Regions from separate parts of the Homo sapiens genome. Here all the other regions are linked to region 1. The links are contacts of gene promoters, found by promoter capture Hi-C in blood cells and fetal thymus (Javierre and others, 2016). All regions are on one chromosome and are shown on one strand. Each heading gives the region's core, a stretch centred on a gene start or on the middle of the fragment in contact. The rest is flanking DNA. Distances are from core to core; before and after follow the strand shown.

What was found. Contacts are between HindIII fragments. The CHiCAGO score rates a contact against its expected background, and 5 or more counts as called.
Region 2: a fragment that was not itself captured here is called in contact with the fragment with the promoter of CMIP in region 1 in 16 of 17 cell types (naive B cells, total B cells, neutrophils and 13 more); the score reaches 18.5 in naive B cells.
Region 3: a fragment that was not itself captured here is called in contact with the fragment with the promoter of CMIP in region 1 in 17 of 17 cell types (naive B cells, naive CD8 T cells, total B cells and 14 more); the score reaches 17.4 in naive B cells.
Region 4: a fragment that was not itself captured here is called in contact with the fragment with the promoter of CMIP in region 1 in 16 of 17 cell types (erythroblasts, megakaryocytes, neutrophils and 13 more); the score reaches 18.2 in erythroblasts.

The regions. Positions count from the first base shown.
Region 1 is chr16:81,443,387-81,446,530 of GRCh38, reverse strand. CMIP (c-Maf inducing protein) reads right to left here and starts at 1,723. Exons shown (of 21, transcript NM_198390.3): 1 at 990-1,723. The coding sequence starts at 1,289. RefSeq lists enhancers at 1-185, 2,350-2,882 and silencers at 731-1,030, 1,461-1,510, 1,581-1,930, 2,041-2,140. The HindIII fragment of the contact is 9,361 bases long and covers 1-3,144 here.
Region 2 is chr16:81,664,580-81,667,723 of GRCh38, reverse strand. The region is part of intron 7 of CMIP (c-Maf inducing protein); the gene reads right to left. LOC100129617 (a long non-coding RNA gene) reads right to left here and starts at 2,370. Exons shown (of 1, transcript NR_045112.1): 1 at 448-2,370. The HindIII fragment of the contact is 2,087 bases long and covers 507-2,593 here.
Region 3 is chr16:81,625,559-81,628,702 of GRCh38, reverse strand. All of the region lies in intron 3 of CMIP (c-Maf inducing protein), which reads right to left. Among named protein-coding and RNA genes, the nearest start is that of MIR6504, 16 kb to the right of the region's middle. RefSeq lists enhancers at 699-1,320, 2,502-2,691. The HindIII fragment of the contact is 7,087 bases long and covers 1-3,144 here.
Region 4 is chr16:81,586,225-81,589,368 of GRCh38, reverse strand. The region is part of intron 1 of CMIP (c-Maf inducing protein); the gene reads right to left. Among named protein-coding and RNA genes, the nearest start is that of MIR6504, 24 kb to the left of the region's middle. The HindIII fragment of the contact is 645 bases long and covers 1,188-1,832 here.

The DNA of each region.
Region 1 (3,144 bases), core at 474-2,973:
CAAGCCTCAGGCCCAAGCCACAGCCGGTATTTGAAACTGTCCTTGTTTCAAAACACAAAGCATCCTGTTCAGGCTCCTACCCGCCACCCCCACTCTCCCCTCGACCCCACCACAGCTGTCTTTCTCCACGTACGAAGAAGGCCACCATTTGCAGATCTGATTTCAGAAACAGATCAATGGTTTTTCCTCTCCGACTCATCCAGCTGACCCAGTCCTACCCATGTATTTAAAAACAATAACAAAATTAAACCTCCAGCAACAAAACACACACGTATACACACACTCTACAGACAATGCCGGACCAGGGCTCCACCAAGCAGCTTCTAGGCTAGAACTCGACCACCGCTGGGTCCTGAGATATTCCAGGACCACTGCCCCCTCCCCCTCCACTTCCAACCTCTCAATGTGCGAATGAGATTTTCAGAAAGGGAAGCACCCCGTTCTGCCTGCCAGCCCTGGCAGGAAAGAGAATAAAGGACGGGTAAACCAAACAGAGAAACTGGCTTCTGGAAATTCTTTGGGTTTGGGGGTTTGGAGGTTTTGTTGTGTTGTTTGTTTTTTTTTTTAAATCTGAGGGGTGGTATTTTGTTTTCCCCTCCCCCACCCCTCAGATCCAGATGGGCCAGGGGCTTCCAGAGAGAACCCCCACCACCATCAGGGCCCAGCGTCGGGTCCATCCTCGAGTCCCAGCCACCAGAAACACAAGAGCTGGGGGCAGAAGGTCCCCAGGCACCCAGCCTGGCGGTGGGCCGAGTCTCCAGCATTTTAAGGGTCTCTCCTGAGCCCGGTCGGCTGGTTTGGGCTTCAGACTCCAAAATCGAGCCCCGCGAGCAGGCCAGGAGCGAGGCGCCCTGGTTCTCCCCGTTCCCCCGGCACCCCCCACCGCCCCCCAGGCCCTGGGCTCCAGGTGCAGCGCCAGGGGGCAGCCAGGGAGGGCGCATCTCGGGCCCCGAGGAGAGGCGGGGGTGCAGCCGCGCAGAGCCACTCACCGTGGCGGACGCCAGGCTGTTGTCGGCCAGCGTTAGGTGGTGCGGCTCCCAGCGCCTCAGGAATTTCGAGGTGAGGATCTTGCTGAGAAAGGTCCGCGGGTGCCGGATGACACAGACCTGAATGTCGCCCTCCTGCAGCAGTTTGTACCTCATCCCGTTGCAAAGCAGAAGAGCCCGGCGGCAGGGCACGGCGCCCATCTTCGTGCCTTCGGGGGCCGACACGTCGCCCCCCAGCAGCGGCTTGGTCTCCTCGATCTGCCGGGGGTCGCCGCCGCCGCCCGAGCTGCTGGTCACATCCATGGCCGCGCCGGGGGAGGGGGCTGGGGGCGGGGAGAGGGGGCTGTCCTGGGCTGCTGGGGCGGCGGGGCCCCCGGATCCGGCGGCCCGCACCCCCCCACCCCCCGGGAAGGTGGGGGGGTGTGGGGCTGGGGGCGCCCGCAGGGGAGGGGGCGCTGCCCGCGGGGGGCGGCGCGTGCGGCGGGCTGGGCCGGCCTCGGCGCTTCCTGCGGGGCTCCGGGCTTCCTCCTAGCTCGTCGGGTGCATGCTCGCGGCGGCTGACCGGGCTCGGCGGGCGACGGGGAGGGGCGGGGGAGGCCGAGGGCGGGCCGGGGCCAGGCGCGGAGGGCGGGCGCCGGGGTGGGGGCGGCGGGGTGGGGGCGGGCGTGTCTCGGGGCCCCGCGCCGCCGCGCGCGTGTGTACAGAGCGTGTGTCCGCGCGGCCGTCCGGGCGAGAGTGGCCGCGGGCGGGGCGGGCCGCGCGCCGGGCTCCCGGAGCCCGGGGCGCCCGCGCGATTGGTCCCCGCAGGGTCATGTGCCCGCCCCTCTGACGTCAATGGCGGCAACGGCGGCGGCCGCGGCGGCTTCGGCCTCTCGCGGGCGGAGTCCGCGGTCCGGGCGGGGTCGCGGCCCACGACGGGGAGGCGCGGCCCGACGGGAGGGGCAGCCCCTGGGGAGGGGGCTGGGGCGGGCGAGCCCCGCGGGGTCCCGGCCCGCCCCGCCTGGAATGTGGGGAGGGGGCGGGGCGCGGGGGCGGGGCGCGTGACGTCACGCCAGCCGCGCCCCCGCGGGTGCCCGGGCGGGAGCCCAGCCAGGCTGCCGGAGCCTGGGGGCCCGCGCCTCACCCACCCCCGCCGCCCCCGGGCCGGACTCGGACGGGTAAAGAAGGATACCCGAGGGCCGGGGGCTGGGTGGAAGGACGGGGACTGGAACCCTCGACCCCTGACGCCCCCTCCGCTGTCCAGGCTGTCCAGCGGGCTGGCCAGATGGGGCCGTGGGACGGGGACGCCTTCCCGACTGAAAGTGTCCCCGCGGTGATCCGGAGGATGAGCCCACCCTGCCCTGTCTCCCACTGCGGGACCCAGCCGGCCTCGAACTCCTGGCCTTTGACGTCTGCTGGCTTTGGCCTTGGGGGTCCTCAAACCTTCTGGAGAGAGGGGACGGTCCGCCCATCCCCCTTCTTTCTTCTGCCCAGGGAGACAGAGCCTCTTCTAGGAACCCACTTAAAGCACCCCCCAACCTACACAGCCACCCCTCTTGTGCGCACCCCAGCAGCTCCCCCTACTTCACCTTCCCTGGGACCCCACCTGGTCATTTTATCTGAGTTCACAGGCCCAGCACCAGCCCACGAGAGAACCATATTCGATTCTCTTGTGACCCAGGGTATCAGGAACTGCAGCCTGGATGCAAAAAGCTCCCTTTCTGCCATCACAAGCAGCCGGCACCTAAGGCCACCTAGCAAATGCTCAGCTCCTCAGCCAGGTTTTCTTATCTCCACGTGCTCCTGCAGCTAATAACGTTAAAACCCTAGATTTTTGCCTTTTTAAGTGAAGGCGCCTCTGTAGTGAACACATGAATGTGTGCAGCGTGTGTTGAACTGCGTCGTGAACACTGCGGAATATCCACAGCATCTGTGCCGTTGGTGGAAATTATTCACCCCCCCTCTCCCAAGAACAGGCAGCATGAAGGTGCTCCCCAGAGGACCCTCTCCCCGAGCCTGGCCAGGGTTTCAGGCAGGGGATGAAAGGCAGGTCCCAGGCTGCATCCCTCACCAAGGAAAGAAGACTCACATCCAGCCTGCCCAGGAGATGCCTCCTTGGGGAGGCACAATTAGATTAGAAAGTTAGAAATTCCTTAGCTCCCCACAATTTGCTGCCATT
Region 2 (3,144 bases), core at 301-2,800, 220 kb before region 1:
TCTGCCTCACAAGTATTTAATCTGGCTTTGGGCTGCCACGTCTGTCTCTGGGCCTCACTGACCCCACTATGGAATGAGGGTCCACAGAAGTGATCTCTAGCCCCCTTCCACCACGAGGGTTTTATGATTTTGTAAACTGCTTCAACAGAGACTTAAGGTAACTGTCATCTTAGCTATTAGATTTTTGAATAATCAAGGTCATTTCCATGGAAATAAACATTTACAGAGGGATCCAGCAGCCTCTGAAAAATACGCTCCCCTTGGAAAACTGGAGGTTAGGTTACTTGACGGTCCACTGGGGACCACAGCCGTGTCTTCTCGCCTCCTTTGCCACAAGAACACTCCGAGTGGCGTGGGGGCACAGAGATACATGGTCATTCTTCAGAACGCAGTTTGGCGAATTATTTGGACTGAATCTCCAGAGGAACATACTAAAGAACCGCTTCCTTTTGTTTCTAGTTTTTATTTCAGTCTAGTAAAGAACATTCTTTGAGACTCTCAAAGCTTCAGTTTGCTCATCCGTGAAAGGGAGCACATAACATATTTGCAAGAGATGCACCCAGAATGGGGGAGCCCCCAAATCCCAGAACAGCACCGTGGCTACGTTCCCCCCGTTTCCTAAATGTCTGAGTGCCTCCTTAAGGAGAAACACTGCATTTGGGGTGAAGAGCAGTCACTGTTCATGCCACCCCAACAGGCTCATGGCTTAGGCAGGCTAGGTACGCTCCTTAGCCAGAGACATGACCCCCCCCCCACACCAGCTGAGAGCCCCAGCTCCACAACGGTGCTGCTGACCCGTGCCACTCATTAAGCATCAGGGCGCATTCAGTGAGTAAATGTCAAAGCTCTCTCTCGCCCACCGCCTGTGTTGTTAGGATTCCATGAGGTCAGGTCTTCCTGTGCCTGGCATGGCCATAATCACTGTTTAATACAGTCTGTTCTTCTACACGAGAGGCGGATCCTCCTCGGTCCTCCCAGCAGTTCTCCTCTGCCGCCGCCGCTCATGGTGTGTAATTAGGAGGCGCCAAGAGCAAGGTGGGATCTGGGTGCGTTAAAGCATCCCCAGACACCTGGGATCACTTAGGGGGTACTCGTTACAAGTGAGGCGAGGACTCATGGCTGAGGGTCCCTACTCTCTGCCAGACTGCCACAGATACTATAAATTCTGGGTCTGCCCAGAGCGGTTCTGATTTTTATAGAGAAAATTAATACATGGTCAACACTCCAGGCCCATAAAACTAACCAAATACAAGAAAGGCGTTGTATGGTGAAGCCCCGAGAGCCTGTCTGAATTATGAATTTTTTCCCTTTGAAGTCAGATGTCCTCAAAGAACCCTTATGAAACGGTTTATTGACTAACATGGAGTATGCAAAAATGTTTATGTGCCTGAAGAGGCATTCCTCTGCCAAGTATGTCCCGGGGGTGTGGCTCTGCCATTGACAAGTTAAGGTCCTTCGCAAGAAAACCTGAAGAACCTTTGCTCTGAACTCCAGCATGGCACAGCCCACTCCATACACTACACCCGTAGTGATTTTAAAGTTAACAAACAGGGCACCTTTCCTTCTAGCTGGCCAAAGCCAGAAAGAGCTCCTCCTTGAAACTATGAGCGCCCAAATTAAGGCAGAAACCCCGCCCCATCCCCCAGTGGGGAGTCTCCTTGTCCTGGAGAAAGAACTGCACAGGGTGTCCCTATCCCCTGTGTTCTGAAAACAAGAAATGAATTTACCCCAAATCTAGGAGGGGCTCAGAAATCAGCAACAATTCATTTACAGTTTGCAATCGCTTAGGGTAGAGAATGGTACATAGCATTCATTATGGTACTAACACGATTTCAGTTGGTAGTGGTGGCCTGGAATGCAGGAGGGGAAAGAGTGTGATGCTGTCTCTGGCTCTACAGAAAGAGTGCTATAATTGATTAATGATGTCTGCCATGAGCATGGAAGGGGTAGAGGAGCACATGTGTCATGCACTTCCATTCCTGACTGGGGAAGGGGCTGTAGGTGATATACTATTCTTCAGGGGCATGGTGTGGAGACAGGCAAGCTACATCACAAGTGAAATGATGTGTGGTTACCCTTTTTCAGTTGTTTTCACGTGCTCCAGGAGACTCTAAAATCTAACGTGGTGGCTGGCTCAGTACAACATGTGATTGGGAATGGGCCCTGGCCTCAGGCTGCCTGCTCCTTAGCTCCCACCAGGACCACCCACAGCTGCTCATCAGACCCTGCCTATCCCGTCCCACCTCTCTGGGTCCCAGATTCCTCCTATGCACAGGTGTCATGGGAATGGCATGAGGGTTAATAACACAATACACTCAAAGAGCACCACACTCTTGACTCCAAGAAAGTGTTCAATAAGCATCTGCAAAAAGATGTTATTCTTATTCCTACCTGTGGTCCCTGTGGCCACTTAGTGGACCTAGCTAAGCCTCAGTTTCCTCGTGACATACAGGGCAAATAATGGCATTTGCTGCTGTCCCTGGAATGATGAGGGAACACCAAGGGGCCACACAGATTACAAGCGCCCCACCCGCTCTAAGTGTGCAATTAAATCCTGCTTTTGTATTTAAAAAAAAAAATTAAAGGCCAAGCTTTATTCAGATTTCCTCAGTTTTCCCTTCATGTCCCTTTTCTGTTCTGGGATCCCATGGAGAGCCCCAAATGACATTTAGTCGTTACGCCCCCGTAGACTCCTCTGAGCTGTGACAGTTTCTTAGAATCTCCTTGTTTTTGATGACCTTGACCGTGGGGAGTACTGGCCAGGTACTTTGTAGACTGTCCCCTTGTTGGGATTTGTCTGATGTTTTTCTCATGATTGGAATGGGGTGATGGGTTACTGGGAGGAAGACCATAGAGGTCAAGTGTCGTTTTTATACGTCCTATGAAGGGAATATTCTGTCTAACTGGCTTGTTGTTGTCGATGTTGACCTTGATCACCTGGCTGAGGCTGAGTGTGTCTGGTTTCTCCACTGCAAGGCTACTCCTGCCCCCTTCCATACAGTGCTCTCTGGAAGGACCTCGCTGTGCGCAGCACACACTAAAGGAGTGCAAAGTCGCGCTCTGGGTCCTTGAGGGCAGGGCATCTACAGACATTATTTGGGCCTATTCTTCCCGGGAGGCTTTCCTCTTCTCCTCCAGCTGCGG
Region 3 (3,144 bases), core at 428-2,927, 180 kb before region 1:
TGAGAAGTGTCTGGGTAGCGTGTGTCTGTGTACATGCATGCATGTACAGTTGGGAGCCACACTCCCGGTGGCTGAAGTCCCAGGTTCTGGACTCACTCAGACTTCTGTTCAAATCCCATCTAAGCCATTGAACAGCTGTGTGACCTTGAGTGAGTGATTTAACCTCAGCCTCAGTTTCCACATCAGTAAAAAGGGAGAAGAGGAGGAACAGGCACCTCCTCAGGGCTGTAAGGATTCACCAAGGTGAGTAAGTGAGGCACTGGCACATGCATGGGACAGGAGTTAAGTGTCCATCATGGCTCGAGGACCAGCTGCAGCCTTGTGCTAAGGCCTTGGGGTGCAACTGGGGGCTCGGCTTGGGCTGGATGACGACTTGGGGGATGTGAGCTTGGGAAGGGATTTGCAGCCTGGTGGAGAAAGCGCCTGGGGCCACATCTCTAGGACACTAGGAGTGGCTCTTCCCCAGGGAGGCTCCCATGACCAGGAGGCGACCCAGGGGAGGTGGGCTCCGGGAGCAAGGTCAGAGCCAGGGGTGACAGCCCCTACTGGAGGCCCGGTCCAGAGCCTCAGGATTTCCCCTTTTGTAGGGATCCCCCCTTCTAGCATGGCCCTCAGTGAGGGGTCAGGGGAGGCATCAGCTCAAGGGCTCTGTGTCATTCTGACCTGGTCCCCTGGGCCTTTCCCCTGCATGGGGATGAGGGTGATGGATCCCGCCCTCCTGAGGGTGCAGCCAGTGGGGACATGACCCAGGCCCTGCCCTCAGCTTCCCGTCAGGTGGGCTTCCCCTCTCTGAGCCCCAGGCACTTTGCCTTGGTGCTGGGGACTTTGAGGGTTGTGGTCCCCCAGCGCCAGCTCCCAACACAGAACATGGAACAGACTCATTCCCGAGGCGCCGCAGCCACTCATGAGGTGGAAGCGAGATTGTGACCCTCGCTGGGAGGCATCTGGCTTTGGCACGGTCCTTTATCCTCATCCTTTATCCACTTGGACGCTCAGTCCCCTCTGCTATGAGATGGGGGAGGGATGTGGACCCCACAGAACTGTTTCCGGACTCAGGAGCACAGGGGCACATAGTGCTGGACACAGGGGACACTCCGTGGCCAGAGCCGGGCAGAGACAGTCTCGAGGGCGGGCTTCCCACCCACCCTAGCCCTCCCAGGCCATGAGTCAGCCGGGACCACCTGTGGAGGCTGGAAGGGGCTGCCAGGGAGACAGGCCGAGCCAGCTGCTCCCACCATGTCGGACCCACTTGGAGACACTGATGATGGCGCATGAGAGGCTCCCACGCGTGGGCTCCTACCAGGATCCCTTCTGCCTGCTGCACAAACAACACAGCCTTCGATCCTCACACGGCCCAGTGACGAGACGCCATGATCATCCCCATTCCACAGAGGAGAAAACTGAGGCCCAAAGAAACACACTCCAAACCAGCATACTCATAGTATCCCCACAGGCCACACACACACTCACACACACATAAAACAGTCATCCCACATGCCACACACACACACTCATAAAATAGTCACCCTACAGGCCACACACACACACATTCATAAAATAGTTGGCCCATATGCCACACACACACCACACACACACTCTCACAGTCACCCCCACACACCACACATACACAAACACACACATAAAACAGTCACCTCACATGCCATGCACACATACTCATAAAACAGTCACCCTACAGGCCACACACACACACATTCATAAAATAGTCGCCCCATATGCCACACACACACTCAGTCACCCCCACACACCACACATACACAAACACACACATAAAATAGTCACCCCACAGGCCACACACACACACATAAAATAGTTACCCCACAGGACACACACACACACTCATAAAATAGTCACCCCATATGCACCCCACACACACACACACACACACACACACACTCTCTCTCTCTCTGTCACTCCACACACCACACACACACCCACACCCACTGTCATAAAATAATCTCCCCACACCACACACCCTCATACAAATGACCCCACATGCCACATATACACACAAATAGTCACCCCACACACCACACACACACACTCATAAGCCACCCACACACCACACACACACGCACACCGTCACCCCACACACCACTCACACACTCATAAGCCACCCACACACCACACACACATGCACACCCATAGTCACCCCACACACCACACACACACATGCTCAGTCACCCCACACATTCATAAAAGTCACCCCACATGCCACACATACACACACACACTCATAAGATAGTCATCCCACACCCCACACACACTCATAGTCACCCCACACGCCACACACACTCATAAAATAGTCACCACACATACTCAAAACAGTCACCTCACACACCACACACAGACACACCAGTCACCTCACCACACTCATAAAATAGTCACCCCACACAACACACAGTCACACTCAGTCACTCTCGCTCTCACACACACTCACACATTCACTCTTACACACATTCTCACGCGCACACACACTCACTCTCACACTCACACACCCCACATTCTTTTCCACCTTTCTCCACAGAGGAGGGACAGAGGCCTGGGCCTGGATGCGGTGATCGAGGGGCTGTGGCCACCCTAGGGGGCTGGGAAACCTGCCCAGCAAGAAGAAGGCAGCGTGGCCAGGGCAGGCAGCCAGAAAGGATCCAAAGCTGGGCTGGGATTTTCCCAGAGCCAAGGGCACTCCTCTGGCCCTGGCAGCCCTGGGACAGGAATACAGGCCAGCTTCTTGTGACACACAGTCTGCTCATTGGTCCCCGGCTCTGGGGCTTGGCCCCTGGGGCTGTTCTGAGTGACCTCACTTCCCCTGGGGAAAAACCATCTTGGTTTCCAGGACTAGTGTGCCTCGGCCTGAGGAACCCCTCTCAGGAAGCGAGAAGGTGGAGAGGCACCAGGAGCTCCAGCTCCCATAGCAGGTGCATCCTGGCTTCTCGGGGCTCCTCTAGGAGCCTGGTGTGTGTCTCCTCACAGCCCAGTAGCCTGGACCTGTCACCTGGGCCTGTTCACATGGACAGACTTGTCCCTCACAGCTGTGCATACCTGGGTCTCTCACCTTGAAACCCTGGACACAGAAACAGGCCAATCTTCTCAATGCTTTGTAAACACACACGGTCCCCTCACAGC
Region 4 (3,144 bases), core at 261-2,760, 140 kb before region 1:
TCCCATCATTTTGGGAGGCAAAGAAGGATGGATCACTTGACCCCAGGAGTTCGAGACCAGCCAGGGTAACATGGAGAAACCCCGTCTCTACTAAAAACAGAAAAATTACCCGGGTGTGGTGGTGCACGCCTGTAGTCCCAGCTACTTGGGAAGCTGACGCAGGAGAATCGCTTGAATCAAGGAGGCAGTGGTTGCAGTGAGCCGAGATCACGCCACTGCACTGCAGCAGCCTGGACCACAGGGTGACACACTGCCTCAAAAAGAAAAGAAAAACAAAGAAAGAAAAGGAAAAAAAAAAAGCAATACAATATTCTGAGCACCGGAATATGTTTATGGCCTTTCATACATTTTTCTCAAGTTGTAATGGTAAAGAACACAGCTTTGAGAACAGAAAACCTGACTTTATATCTCAGCTCTGCCTCTTACAGGCTGTGAGACTCCCAGCTAGAGAGCCAGTTGGGCTTTATGAACCTCGGTCTCCTCATCTGTGAAATGGGAGTGATAGAGGCCAGGAGACAGGGCCACAGGAAGACGACGGGAGGCCCACGTCTGGCTCATGGTAAGTGCTCAATGAATGTCAGCGTGTACAGCACAGAGGGCCTGCTGTGCCCCACGACTAAACAGCACACCGGCTTTCACAGGGTCTCCTGCATGCTGGGGGAGACAGACAGAAAAGACAAATAAGTGAAATACACAGGATGTTAAGTGATGATAAGCGTAGGTGAAAAGCAAACCAAGCAGATAACAGAGAACGAGGATGTTGGGTTTTGGCAATTACTGAAGCCATGGCCATGTCATTTCAGAAGAAGTAGGTAATGATGTAATTGTCACACCGACAATGCTGGAGAAGCACTGGGGCTACTGCTCAGCGCCTCCCAAGGTACAGCACCCTGCCCGTAAACGAGGTCAATGGACGGTGGCACACCGGGACCACACCTGACAAGCGTGGCTCCAGATTTAAAGAGAAAACTTCTGCCTTCAGAGAATCAACTGGAAGGGACAAGTCTCCCCCAAATCTCTTAAAAAGAGGTTTAATCTGGGACTGGGGAAAAAGAGAGAGAGAAGAAAGGCATCTACTTTGAAAGACAGACTTGGGTACTTTTTCTGGCCAAAAAACAAAAACTATGCAAGCCGTCTTTCCCTTTCTGCTACCTCAACAGAGAGCTCCGAGACGGCCAAACAAAGCTTGGGGTGATCGGCCCAGCCCTGGGGATCCGGAGGGTCTCGTTCTGTTTGATCCTAATTGCCTCCTTCCACACAGTGTCTCAGCTCTGAAAAGCCTCGGTCCTCTTGGAGGCAGGCAGGGTATAATATCAAGACAAATGCAGTAGTTCCTGGGGAAGCAAGAGCCGGCAGCCTTAGACGGTGTGTTTCAAGTGGGAAATCCCTGACCGTTCCTGCCTCAGCGCTGGCCTGGGGGCTGCAGGCTTCCATGGAGGGTTTCCAGGATATGTGACAAGGGAGCTTGACTCATGCACCCGCACACTGGCTGTCCACACACGGACCTGGCCACCTTTCTCCAGGAGGCTGGACAGTCAGGCCCAAAACATCTGAGGCTCTCACCCTCAGGAGGGGATCAACGTGTGCTCTCTAAAATCACCATGAAAAATCTGCTCCCTGAAGTCAGGGGAGGAGGGAGAGACAGGTTTGGTCACTTCAGGAAGTCAGGAGCAGTAGAGGAAAGTTCTGGAAGATGGAGCAGAGACGGCTGAGATTCCCACTCCAGCGCTGTAGCTCACCCATTGGGTGGCCTTTGGCGGCCACTTCATCTCTAGCACCTTTGGTTTTTTCATTGGTAAAATGGGAATGAGAAGAACACCCACCTCAAAGCTTTACCGTGATGGGGATGATGATCTGCGCAATCTGTGCAGCAGCTGGGGAAGCAAGGACTTTGTGGTGGCTCTGGCTGAACAGAGGTGAAACCGGCCCCCCACTGGGTCACAGGCCCCCGAGTACATATGGCACAGACACAGACTGACCGCCTCATCGATTCCACCCACAGCACTCCACCTTTCAAAATTCTGCCTACCAAACATACTCATCATATAATGAGCAGAGGTGGTGTTTCAAATGTTTAATCGCTGGTACAGCCCAGGAATGGGCGGCCCCATCAGAGTGGACCCCAGCTGTAAAGCTGGCTCCAGTGTCCAGTGCGCTCCCCTAGACCCTGCCCCGTGGTAATGAGTCATGCAGGTTCCCTTTCTCCTGTATAAACACCTCTGACTCCCTGCCCTTCTGCATTTCTGTTTCAAATCAATACCAGTTAACTGCTATTAGGGAATCACACTGCACACACTGCATCAAAAACAAAAACCAACCACACAGATTTCATCTCATGTAGCCTGTTCTTTACTTTTCTAAATTGGGAAAACAGCTCATGGGTCCCAACAGACTTAGGTGAATACCTAGAATTCCGGAACACCCCAGATTTGAATCCAGCGAGCTCTCCTCTTTGAGTTCTCTACTTTCTTCTCTCCTTTACCTCACTTTAAGCACCCATGCAAATGCCCCCTCGGTTCATTTGTCTAACATCTGTGTGACATAGTCCAGAACCCCTTCCTTAAGGACTCCACAGTTGAGTGGGGAGTCAGATGTCTACACATTAGTAGAATTCCATGTGTATGTGTGCAGGTGTGGAGGCAGAGGAGCCCGAGGGAAAGTGGGACGAATACTTCAGAGAGTATGCGATGTTTGAGTTGGGCTTTGAAGGATGAATAGGAGTTTATTGGGCAGAGAGAGAGAAGTTGAAGGAGGTGAGTCATAAAAACTGATTAAATCTCGATTACAGAGAGCCTTGCGTGGCAGGCTACAGTGCTTGGAGTTACACCGGATCACTGAGGAATGTGAGGGCTTACTGGGATTTAATTCTCCTAGTACGGGAGACACTAGGTAAATGTATGTGAACAGGCCTTGTGAAGAGGGACTCTTGGGCCCCCAAGGATCACTGTTGCTACTGTCTACAAACAAGTAGGCAGTGAACGACTATCTCTTTCTACTATCGCTGTTTCGATGATAATAGCACCCACAAATTACCACCTCCAATGCAAGAAGAGATGCATCACGCCTCTACTACAGTAAACTGTGTTATCAAAATAGTAGTAAAGTTGCTTTGTCCATTTCACTATCCCATCAATAGGGCCCAAA